3 separate regions of the Homo sapiens genome follow, and regions 1 and 3 are each linked to region 2. Evidence: promoter capture Hi-C in 16 types of primary human blood cells and fetal thymus (Javierre and others, 2016). All regions are on one chromosome and are shown on one strand. The core of a region is centred on a gene start or on the middle of the fragment in contact, and the rest is flanking DNA. Distances in the headings are between cores, read along the strand shown. Region 1 overlaps WSCD2 (WSC domain containing 2). Region 2 holds the start of FICD (FIC domain protein adenylyltransferase). Region 3 has its middle 28 kb from the start of WSCD2.

Region 1 (3,881 bases), core at 249-2,748, 280 kb before region 2:
GTCCAGTTGCATAAGCACTGTTATTACCATTTTACAAATGAGGTAACTTGGCACAGGGAGGTTGAGTAACTTGGCCAAAGTCAAACAGCTCTGACATGGCAGTGTAGGGATGCAAACCCAGGCAATCTAGGTCCCAAGACTGCACTGTCAACCCTAGCTTCTCAAAATACATTGTGAAAAATTCACACTCATTATCCCACATAATTGTGTAAGGTTTATTAGCCCTGTTTTATAGGTGAGGAAACTGAGGCTTAGTGAGGGGAAAGCCTTGTTCCATGTCACACAGGTAGGCCATGACAGTTCTGGATGGAAACCCAGGTCGGTCTGATTCCAAAACTGCATATAATACTGCCTGCAACAGTTGCTTAATGTATGGGGCTTAGGAACCAAATCAACTTTCTTTATAGCATTGAAAACCACAACTTTTACCTTCGGGTTGGCCTTGGCCTCCCAGGAAATATTTGAATAGAGAATTCTGTTTTGGGGGGACATTAAGGAGCCTGGTCTGCCCCACCCGACCTATCAACCCAACATTTTGCTCTGGAAAAAAAAAAAAAAAAAGTCAAACCTCCAGAAAAGTCGGAAGAATTATGCAGTGAACACATATATACTCATTCCATAGAATTTTGTGACATACATTAACTTTTGCTGTATTTACTTTATTGTCCATCTCTCCTTTTCTCCATCCCTCAATCCTTCCTAATTTTTGGTGCATTTCCAAGCAAGTTGCAAGCATCATTATACTTCAGGATGTTGTCATTGGTTATATAATTCAATATTAGCTTTCTGAAGTAACACTTCCATAGAGTGGAATGCACATATTTTAAGTGTACTAGTTAATATCAACTGGCTAATCCACTCCCCTATCAAAATATAAAACATAACCATATTCTATAAAGTCCCTGTGTCTGGGCTCCTTTTTGCAGTGTATTCCAATGAAAACCATTCCCTGAAGCTTACTTGGCTTCGACACAGATGTCCCCTGGTTTATTTTATCCTAAATCTGATCATCTCAGAACAAAAATTAAACAGGCAGGAGAAGAAAGCTGAACCTCCAGCTAGCAGGAACAATACCAGGAACCACAATCGATTCTGTGGGCAATTCCGGCATGTTTGTCTCAATCTAACACTGCATTCATTCAAGAATTTCATTCTCCTAAACAACCTCAGGCTGTCATCGCTGCTTAATAGTCCCATTTTATAAGTGAGCAAACTGAGGCTCCGACAGATCATTTTTTTCCTATGTCACCCAAAAAGTAAGTGGAAGAATTGGAATTTAAATCTAGGACTTCACACCTCTCCTTCAAAGGGCTTTTGTGTGAAATTAATGAGGCTCACAGTAAGACTTCAATAAATAGCAGCTAATGCAGAACAGGGAAGACCCTGGTAAAATCTTGGGAAGGAATTACCTAGAGGAGGGCAGCGCTCTGCCCTCATGCCCGAGTAATCACGTGAGGTGAGCTTGTCTCTTGAATTGAGCATGGGGCAGTCACTGAGGACCTTGCCCATAACCGGTCCAGGGCAGTGACCAGGGAAGAGGCCAAGTGCAAGAGCCAAGGAGTAGATAGAAGGGAGGAAACATGAAGGAATGTGGACAACTCTGCTGGCAATGTGGCGGTGATGGGGTGAAGGGGAGCTGGTGGTCGCTGGAAGGGGCTCTTTCTAAACGAGGGAGCTATTTGTTCCTGTTTGAGTGCTAATGTGATTGAGCCAGCTGAGAGAGAAAAAATATTGGGGTTTGGAAGGAGCAAAGAGCTTGGAGAAGGAGGGAATGGAGAACACATACATGAGCAGGGGATGGGTGGCTTCCCCAGAAGAGGGAGAGATGGAGGTGAGGGGCCATGGGAGGTGAGGGAGGTTTGCCTGCCTTCCCTTGGATGATAAATAAGGGTGGAGCTCATCTGCCCCAGGCTGAAGAAGGCAGCACTGAGACCTGGGGCCTCCAGGCCTGGATCTGGGATTCTCTCATCTTCCTTTCTGCTCCAGCGCCCCCTGCTCTGAGCCTTCCCTCAGCTGCCTTTGCAACTGAGGGAACCAAAAGAAAAGCTTGTGCTTTCTTAGCTCCCTCTGGGGTTGCAGTGGGAGGTGCTGGGGCTTGCATTTTCTGTTAACTCTGATGGTAATGGCATTCTGCAGGCTCTGAAAAGCCAGAGAATCAAAAATATCCAAATGGTACTCACCACATCCCAACCCATTTTACAGATGAGGAAACTGAGGGCTAGAGAAAAATAATATCTATGCCTTTTGAGCACTTTAGAGTATTAGCATATTACATGCTTTGTTTCATTCAATCCTTACAAGAGCCCTACAAAATAGATATTATTGTTATCCACCCAGTCACCATTCTACCCATTCATGCATCCGTCCAAGAAGCAGTTATTAAGTACCTGCTGTATACCAGATATTGTGGAAACTTTTGGTGAATCAGCAAAACACAATATGGGCAGGGTTTCTGACCACACGACTAATTGCATGCATAATTATCTGAATTGCAATTGTGATCAACAATATGAAGGAGATGGATATAGTAATGCACTAATGATAGCCCAGGGAGTCAGGAAAAGAGGAGAGACAGGAAGGGAGGAAGGAAAGAGGGAAGGAAGAAGGAAGGAAGGAAGGACAGACGGATAGACAGTGGGACCCATTCAACTGAGAGCTGAAGAACAAAAAGCAAAGGCAGGTAGGAGGCAATGGAGAGGGAACAGCATGCATGAAGGCACTATGTCAGGACACAGCAAAGCACAGGAGAGGAAGTACAGAGAGACCAGGTGGCTGGCATGTGGTGGAGTGGATTAGAATGAGCCTGTGAGTTTGCAAAGGCCAACCATGTGGGCTTGGAGGCCAAGATAAGAACCCTGGACTGCATCCTATACTCAAAAGGCATAGATATTATTTTTCTCTAGCCCTCAGTTTTCTCATCTGTAAAATGGGTTGGGAGGTGGTGAGTACCATTTGGATATTCCTGATTCTCTGGCTTTTCAGAGCCCGCAAAATACAAGAATAACAAAAAATACACGACGGATGCCATTGACGGTTTCGATCTGGAGGAAAGGGTAGGGGTGAATGGGAAAGACTTGCTCTGCTGGGGGGAAACTGGGGCTGGAGAGAAGATTCACCCTCCTAGCTGACTTCTATTGGATCCCTACTATGGGCTAAGCACTGTGCTTATCCCTTTCCATCATTATCCCATTTAACACTCACCTCAACTCTATGAGGGAGGAACCATCTCCCTCATTTTACAGATGGGAAAGCTGAGGCCCAAGGAAGCTTTCCCATGACCCACGCAAGTGTCCTGTGCCCTTGATCACCTGGCTGAGAAGTGGCAGGGGTGTGACTCATACCCTGGCCCTTTCAGACAGGCTCCATCTGCCCCTGGTGTTGACCTCTGTCCATGCTCCGCCCTTTTCAGACAACCGTTGCATGGACAGAAGGTTCCTGCCAGGCAAGTCCAAGCAGCTCATTGCTTTGGCCAGCTTCCCAGGTGCTGGCAACACGTGGGCTCGCCACCTCATTGAATTGGCCACAGGCTTCTACACTGGCAGCTACTACTTCGATGGCTCCCTCTACAACAAAGGTGAGGAGATGGCAGGGAGGGCAGGGCAAGAGGTTCCCTGGGCTTGGGAAGGTCCCCACTTGGAGGGTATGGGAATACTCCTCCTTGAGTATCTACTGTGTGCCACTCAGCTCTCCCAGGCACACTTTTTGAGACTCACTGCATGCTTGGTACCCCCCCACCTTCCTTTATGCCCCACAAACATTTCTTAAGTCATGTCCTGGATACTCCACTAGCATCCATTCAATAATTGACATTTGTCAAGTACTTATCCTATGCCTGGTACCTTTCCTCCATTTAGGTTACAACAAACATTTCTTACACACCT
Region 2 (4,036 bases), core at 1,354-3,853:
GCCAGCAAGCGGTGGGCCTTGCATTTCAACGCACATCTGTCTGACCCCAGAGCTTCACTGTTTTCTAACATACTGTCACCCATAAGCTGGCTGCCTACCAGGCCCTCCTCTGGGGAAGGTTTTTACAATGACATTACTACTTGGGCCATCAGGAAGTGCAATTCAGAGGACTCCAAGAGAAAAATGTTTATGACCTTGGTTGAAAAGATTAAAAACGAGAAGCCACCAAAATAATCACCACCCTGATTTTGTTCCTTAAAAACTATGGATCTTCTGGCCAGGCGCGGTGGCTCAAGCCTGTAATCCCAGCACTTTGGGAGGCCAAGGCAGGTGGACCACTTGAGGTCAGGAGTTGAAGACCAGCCTGGCCAACAGAATGAAACCCCGTGTCTATTAAAAATACAAAAAAATTAGCCGGGTGCAGTGGCACATGCCTGTAATCCCAGCTACTCAGGAGGCTGACGCAGGAGAATCGCTTGAACCCAGAAGGTAGAGATTGCAGTGAGCCAAGATCACACCACTGCACTCCAGCCTGGGTGACAGAGCAAGACTCTGTCTCAAAAACAAACAAACAAACAAAAAAACAATTAGCCTGTGTGTGCCTGTAGTCCCAGCTACTAGGGAAGCTGAGATGGGAGGATCACTTAAACCCAGGACATGGAGGTTGCAGTGAGCCAAGATCATGCCACTGCACTCCAGCCTGGGCAACAGAGTGAGATCCTATTTCAAAAAAGATAGATAGGTGATAGATAGATAGATAGATAGATAGATAGATAGATAGATAGATAGTTTGCTCTGTGCCAGATGTATAGAATCTCATTTCACCCTCACATAAAACCTTGTGAAGTGGTAATATCATCACACTGTGCACAGTTTACAGAAAAGCCTAGACAGATGATCAACAAGATCAAGTCACTTGCTGAATGTGATTCAGTTTGCAAGGGGCAGAACTGGGATTTGAACCCAGGTCTGTGTGACTCCCAACAGTGACACCCCACAACCACCACCTAGCCCTGCCTCCAAGAGCAATACACGTCACAGAGGAGGTCAGATCTTGAAGCATCAAGCCTTCTGCAAATCCTGAACTGGATGCCAAAAGCAAGGTAGGCTGTTTGTCCCCATTTTACAAGTGGGGAAAGTGAGGCTAGGAGTAACGTGCCCAAGGTGACACGGAGAGTAAATGGCAAAGTCTGAATTTGAGCTCAGGTCTCTTTGACTCCCCAGAATCTGAACTGCTAACTTCTAAATGCTTAGCGTTTCTGGGGCACCTCCCTAGATGTTTAATTTCAGTATTTGTGGATTAAGATGGAGGTTTCCATTCTCTGCTTCAAGGAAAAAATTTCTCTCTGGGAAGCCAAAAGAACTAGCCAGGTCCTTCTGGAGAGGATACAAATTAAAAAGTCAGGGAGAACCGAGGGGGTGGCTTGCGCCTGTAATCTTAGCGCTTTGGGAAGCCGAGATGGAGGGAGAGCTTAAGGTCAAGAGTTCGAGACCAGCCCGGGCGACATAGTGAGACCCGGTCTCTAAAGAAAATAAAAAATCAGAAATAGGTCGGGCGCGATGGCTCACGCCTGTAATCCCAGCACTTTGGGAGGCCGAGGCAGGCGAATCTTCTGAGGTCAGGAGTTCGAGACCAGCCTGGCCAACGTGGTGAAACCCCATCTCTACTAAAAATACACAAATTAGGCGGGCGTGGTGATGCGCGCCTGTAATCCCAGCTACTCGGGAGGCTGAGGCAGGAGAATCGCTTCAACCTGGGAGGCGGAGGTTGCAGTGGGCCAAGATCGTGCCACTTCCCTCCAGCCTGGGCAACAGAGTGCGATTCCGTCTCAAAAAAAAAGAAAGAAAGCAAGACAGAGAGAGAGAAAAAAAAAGAAAGAAAGAAAGAAAAGAAAAGAAAAGAAAATTCGCCGGGCATGGTGGCATGCACCTGTAGTCCCAGCTACTCGGGAGGCTGAGATGGGAGGATTGCTTGAGCCCAGGAGGTGGAGGCTGCAGTGAGCTGCAATTGCTCCACCGCACTCCAGCCTGGGCGACACAACGAGACCCTGTATTTTATAAGAAAAAAAAAAGTTGTTTAAGTCAGGGAGGAAAAGACACAGAGAGGAAAAGAGTAAAGAAGAAGAAGGCGGCAAACTCAGCAGCATGGGGTGGAGGCTAAGAACAGGGGCTGCGCAGTCAAGCAGGCTAACCGGGTGAAGGGGTGAAAAGCATCAGCATCTTCATTTCACAACCGGGAAAAATGAGGCACACGACAGCGGCTCCGGGACGAAGAGACCCGAGGAAAAGACCGCCGTGGAACTTCCAGTTTCCGGGCCCGCCACCTAGTGTGCCCCAAATCCGCACGCCCATCGGGTTTCCAGCACCTGCTCCTCCTGCCTGTGGCCTAGGCCCCGCCCCTCCCGCTGCTTATTGGCTGCTACGTGAACGAGACAAACGCAAGCAACAACCAATGGGAGTGGCCCACGGCGCGTCTTTCCCGGGGAAGCCGACGCGGACGCGGGAACCCGGAAATGCGAGGGAAGGACAAGTGGGGAAAGCCAATCCGCCGCGACGAGGGCTGCGGGCGGTTCAATGGCAAGTCGCCGGGGGCGGGGCCAGAGGCCGGCGGAGAAGGAGGACCCGGGAGCCGGCGGCCCGGAGCTGGGAGCGCGGGGAAGGCGGTTGGGGTTCTGACAGCTGCGCGCGGTGAGAAGGGGAAAAGCCCTAGGGGCTCGAGAGGATGAAGCCGGGAAGGGTGCGACGGGGCCGCGAGCCCTGGGCGGGGTTCGGGAAGGGAGGCTCTGCAGTCTTGGAGGGGACTCAGACCGGTCCCCTCCCCTCTCCGGGCCTCAGTTCTCCCTTTCTAGGGAAGTGTGGGGGAGAGATTCGCGCCTCCCAGAACGCACTCCTTCCCTGCACACACCCCTGGCACCGGCGAACTGCCCCCTTTCCTGTACCGCCCCGCCCAGGAGCCTGTCCCCTCGGGAAGCCCGCCCAGACCCCTGGACCCGCGCAGCACTCCAGGCGCACCCCTATTAAAGCGCACCCCAAGCCATTTCACATGTTCTGTGGCAATGGGCCAGGATCCCCATGAGACTCAGAACCCCGTGATCCATCAGTCATTCCCGGGTCAGGACCAGCCCAGAGCAGGTGCACAGGCCCTGCTTAGTAATAAGGTAGAAATCGAGACCTGGGGACCGGGTTCAGAGGCCCTGGGGTTTCCTTCCGGATGCCTCTGTTTACCTCCTGTGGGCCTTCTGGAATTTAACTTATGCTCTCTGTGTCTTGGTTTCCCTTGTCTGTAAAATGGAGCTAGCGGTAGCTCTTCCTTCATAGGGTGGCATGAGGGTGAAACGAGGCAATGCGTGGCCAGTACACTGCTCAGCACCTAGGACACCATAGTTGCTTAATAAGTGCTTATTGTTAGCATAGTGTTTGCATGCCTGGCCCCACCTCCACTCCCACTGCCAGCCCCAAGCACATACAAGCCATGTTGTCACTGAGGCCAAGCACTGTGGCCCACAGCCTGAGTTCCTTTCGAGATGCTCGAACTGCTCATCTTCTTGATGGGGTCCCTTCTGGACAGGCCAGAAATGGAAGGCCAGAGAGGGGAAGGGCACTGTGGGAGCTGTGGCTGAATATCAGGGTGAGGGCAATAAATGAGGCCACCCAACAATTGTGCTTATCAAAGATTGGGCGTCAGAACTGCTGTGGCTGATCTGCCTGGGTGTCTGTCAGTCATTTATGTCCCAAATGTTTGACATATGTCCACAAATCCAGTGTTTGTGGTCAGAAGCCACAGGGATATATGGGAAGGGGGGACACTTTAGAGCCGTGGGGTTCCTGAGTTCAAGTCCTAAGGCTGTCACTTGCTCCCGGCGAGACTTTCGGCAAGGGACTTCACCTCTCTGAACCTCAGTTCCCTCACCTGGAGAAGGGTGAAAACATCAGCTCAAGTCGTTGAAGATTGCAGGAGGTGACCCATGTGAGGCATTTGGTGCTTAGCACACGGCCTGGATTATGGCAAGTGCTCATTAATTGTTGGACCACAGCA
Region 3 (3,651 bases), core at 602-3,101, 410 kb before region 2:
GCTATTTCTTTCATGAGTCTAGGACTTTCTGTACGATGTTATTTGGAGAGAGATTCTGCTGCTATATATATGCAACTTGAAAACCCTCTAGATAGATCTCTACATTCCTTCTAGTTATTTAGTAGTTAATAGCATAAGCTTTGGTGTTCATTGCATCCAGATTTGAATGATGACTCTGCCGTTTATTATGTGTTAACTTGGGCAAGCCGATAACTTCCTGGCTCACAGTCTCCACATCTACCAGCCATTCAGGAGAACGTCCTTTCCCCTCATCTCCACCAGCAGGAGGTGTTAGAACTCTTTTTAATTTTTGTCAGTTCAATGGGTATAGAATAATATTTCATTGTTACTTTAGTTTGCACTTGTCTAACTTCTAGAGAATTGGAGCATCTTTTCCTCTGATTCTTGGCCATTTTGATTTCTTCCATAAATTCCTATTCTTTGCCCATTTTCTGTGGGGCCATTTGTCATTTTTCTGGTCTGTTTGTGAGAACTCTTTGACATCATATGGACATTATACTAATATAGCATGGATTTTATCTTTCACCTGCATTACAGTTTTTTTAAGAACCATCTTTTGTTCCTTTTAAAATGTTGCTATAATGGTATTACTGCACTGTCACGTGAGGATTAGATAGCCTAATGTATATAAGCACATAGTAGAAATCCTGGTAATTTCAATACAGCATTTCTATTATTTACAGGCTTTGAGTGTGGGTACATGGTTCTGGAGTTACCTGAATGTGTGTTGTTGATGGAGTTAGTTAAAATGACAGTGCCAGGCAAGGAGGTACTTGTGATCTATAATGTAAACACCTAGGAGAAGGGGAAAAAAGAATGTCACTGTCTTGTGTCTGCTCATTTGGGAGAGTGAGCAGAAGCGCTTGTCAGCAGAGTCGAGTCTAATGTGCATGTGACTGATGAACTGTGGAATTGACAGGGCTCCATTATTTACTCTGTGATAGGAAAAAGTATACTCATGCTTGAGAGCTCATGAGCAATGGAGATACCAAATAAATCAGAATAATGACTGAGGGGTGACACCCATGAGTCAGCTCCACCAGCAAGTCCTGCCCAGAACATCCCTTTTGCCAGAATCAGACTCCACCAAACATAGGTCAGCATTAAGGGCTCCTCTTCTGTGCAGTCAGCGTGAACAGGTCCAAACTTTTATCAATTATTTACTGCTATGAAATGCTGCATAACAAACAACCTCAGTGACATTAAACAATAAACACTTATTGATCATTGATCATTTGTGACTACTGGGTGGTCAGCAAAGCAGCTATGCTGATCTTGACTGGGTGCACTCACATGTCTGGGGGCAGTCGGCTATCAGCCTGTCCTTCCATGCATTATGTTGTCAGTGGCTTATGCATCAGAATTACCCATGAAGAATATTAAAATACAGATTCCAGGGCCTCATTCCTAAAGAGTCCATTTTAAAAGGTCTGAGGGTAAGCTTAGGAAACTGTGTTTTAACTAATTGCAGATCCATGCTATTTCTATTTTACACTGGGACTTCTCGGTGCTAATTTTGGGTGACAGTGGTGGATAAAGAAACATTGTCAACAGTGATGACTGGAGTCTCCTCCACATGTATCTCATCCTCCAACAGGCAGCCTGGTGTGGTCTCATGGGAGAGGTATAGGCACCCACTTTTTAAGCCTCATCTTGGGTCATGCTTGCTAAAATCTCATTGGCCAAAGCAAGTCACTTGGTGGAGCCAACTTGAGAGAGGAGGAGCATTACAGTCACATGGGCAAGGACATAGGCACAGGGACAGATGAAGAATTGGGGCCACCACTGCAATCTACCACAATGGTTCAGCATGGAGGTTAAGATTACAGGATATAGAAACAGCTGGACCTGGACTTTGGTGCCTCTTCCTGCTGGGATTTTCATACTTCCTCCCATTTCTCCCCTAGGTGCCTACACCAAAGCCTTTTCCCGTAAGGCTTTGCTCTCGGCTAGCTGCCACAGTCAGAGATTTTCTTCAGTGTTGCCTCCCAACTGCCAATGCCCTCTCTCTCTTTCAAGGATATTTGCATTAAAAGAGTCTTACTGCTTTTTCTGATTACAAGGGAATATGTGCTCTTTGCACAATGCTCAAGCCATACAGATAATCATGACCTAGCTCCATCACCCCTCTCTGAGTGGGAATTTTCCACTGTCAGTATGTTCTTTTTCATACAGACTTTTTCTTTGCCTATTTGAGATCTCTTTGTCAAATATGGGGTCAAGCTTTAGACAAGTTGCTTTATTCACTTAATATCAACAACAACAGCAACACTGTGTGGGTGTCTTTCCATGCAGGATGTTGTCACTGGCTTTTACATCAGAATTACCTATGGAGGAGAACATTAAAATACAGACTCCAGGGCCTCATTCCTAAAGAGTCTGTTTTAAAAGGTCTGAGGGGAAGCTCAGGAAACTGTGTTTTAACTAATTGGAGCTCCACACTATTTGTATTTTAACAGGGTCTCCTTGCCTGGTGCTAATTTTTGGTGACAGTGATGGAAAAAGAAATACCCAGTGAAGGGAGTGATTAGCGCAGGGGCTCCAAGCACTGTGATAGCCGCTAGGGGAGACACTTGTGATTGAATCACATCACCTCAGGGGGCCAGTTTTTTTTTGTTTGTTTTTTGTTTCTTTTTTTTATTTTTCAGAGAAAGGAGACTGTATTGACTTGCACCTTCAGTTTCTTTGGAACCTGTCCAGGTATGGCCCCGTAAGTAACCAAATAACCACTAACCTAGGTTCAGGAATTTCCCAGCTGTGTGTTCTTAGGCAAGGGACTTCACCTCTCTGGGCCTCAGCCAGTTCATCATAACATGGAAATCATAATATCCACCTGGCTCAGCAGTTGAGAAAAGCAATGAGTTCACACCTAGAAAGAGCCCACCCAGCTGGCCTCATAATAGGTCTTCCATAAACAGTAGCTTCCCTTCCCCCATGCGATGTGGTGAGCAGGGACTTACTGGGCAGTCTGGGAAAAGCCAGAGAGCCCCCGAGGACAGCAGCAGCCATGCCATGTGCCTTGATGAGTTAATTATGGAAAATTAGGGCAAGTCAGGTTTCTGCCTTCAGGAATCTCCTATTAAGGTCTGGATGATAGTGCAGGATTTTAATAACTCTCCAGGGGCTGGTGACAAGGAAGGTTCTTCCTGCTGGGCTGATAAGTAGGGGAACCAATCAAAATGTACAAATACAGCCAAGAAAGAGGCTCGGGGAGGCCTTTGGAGTGGACCACAGCCTTTTCTGGATGTTTGCTGGCTGGGGACTCTGATCAGACAAATTCTGAGTGGGGCATTCCAGGTCTCCTGACATCAGAATTATGTGTGGTAGATGCAGAAATGGTGGCAATTTGCTGCCCTTCTCTGTATTTACTCTTTTTCCAATGTGCTTTTGCAGCCCTCTCATTGAAAAGTGGAGTCTGGTTCCTGAAAAATCCTTGAATCTAAGCTGGCCTTATCACTTGTATTGGCCTATAGAGTATAGTGGAAGTGACTCAGAGAGTTCCTAGGGGTTCTCAGGAGTCAAGAGGACTAGAACACTTCTACTTTCTCTTTTGAAATCTTGCCCAGCTACTATGGGGACAACCCCAGGATATCTGCTAGCAGATAAGAGCTTGTGGAGGGGAGCTCAGTC

The links. The method cuts DNA at HindIII sites, captures the fragments that hold promoters and counts their contacts. A CHiCAGO score of 5 or more calls a contact.
Region 1: a contact is called between a fragment that was not itself captured here and the fragment with the promoter of FICD in region 2, in 2 of 17 cell types (M2 macrophages and M0 macrophages). The highest score is 6.4, in M2 macrophages.
Region 3: a fragment that was not itself captured here is called in contact with the fragment with the promoter of FICD in region 2 in 4 of 17 cell types (M2 macrophages, M0 macrophages, M1 macrophages and 1 more); the score reaches 8.3 in M2 macrophages.

The regions. Positions count from the first base shown.
Region 1 is chr12:108,229,322-108,233,202 of GRCh38, forward strand. It overlaps WSCD2 (WSC domain containing 2), which reads left to right. Exons shown (of 9, transcript NM_014653.4): 7 at 3,410-3,574. The region is part of intron 2 of LOC124903077 (a long non-coding RNA gene); the gene reads right to left. Among named protein-coding and RNA genes, the nearest start is that of WSCD2, 100 kb to the left of the region's middle. The HindIII fragment of the contact is 1,091 bases long and covers 954-2,044 here.
Region 2 is chr12:108,512,674-108,516,709 of GRCh38, forward strand. FICD (FIC domain protein adenylyltransferase) reads left to right here and starts at 2,604. Exons shown (of 3, transcript NM_007076.3): 1 at 2,604-2,688. RefSeq lists a silencer at 394-579 and an enhancer at 2,076-2,135. The HindIII fragment of the contact is 9,938 bases long and covers 1-4,036 here.
Region 3 is chr12:108,099,007-108,102,657 of GRCh38, forward strand. No RefSeq gene overlaps it. Among named protein-coding and RNA genes, the nearest start is that of WSCD2, 28 kb to the right of the region's middle. The HindIII fragment of the contact is 782 bases long and covers 1,461-2,242 here.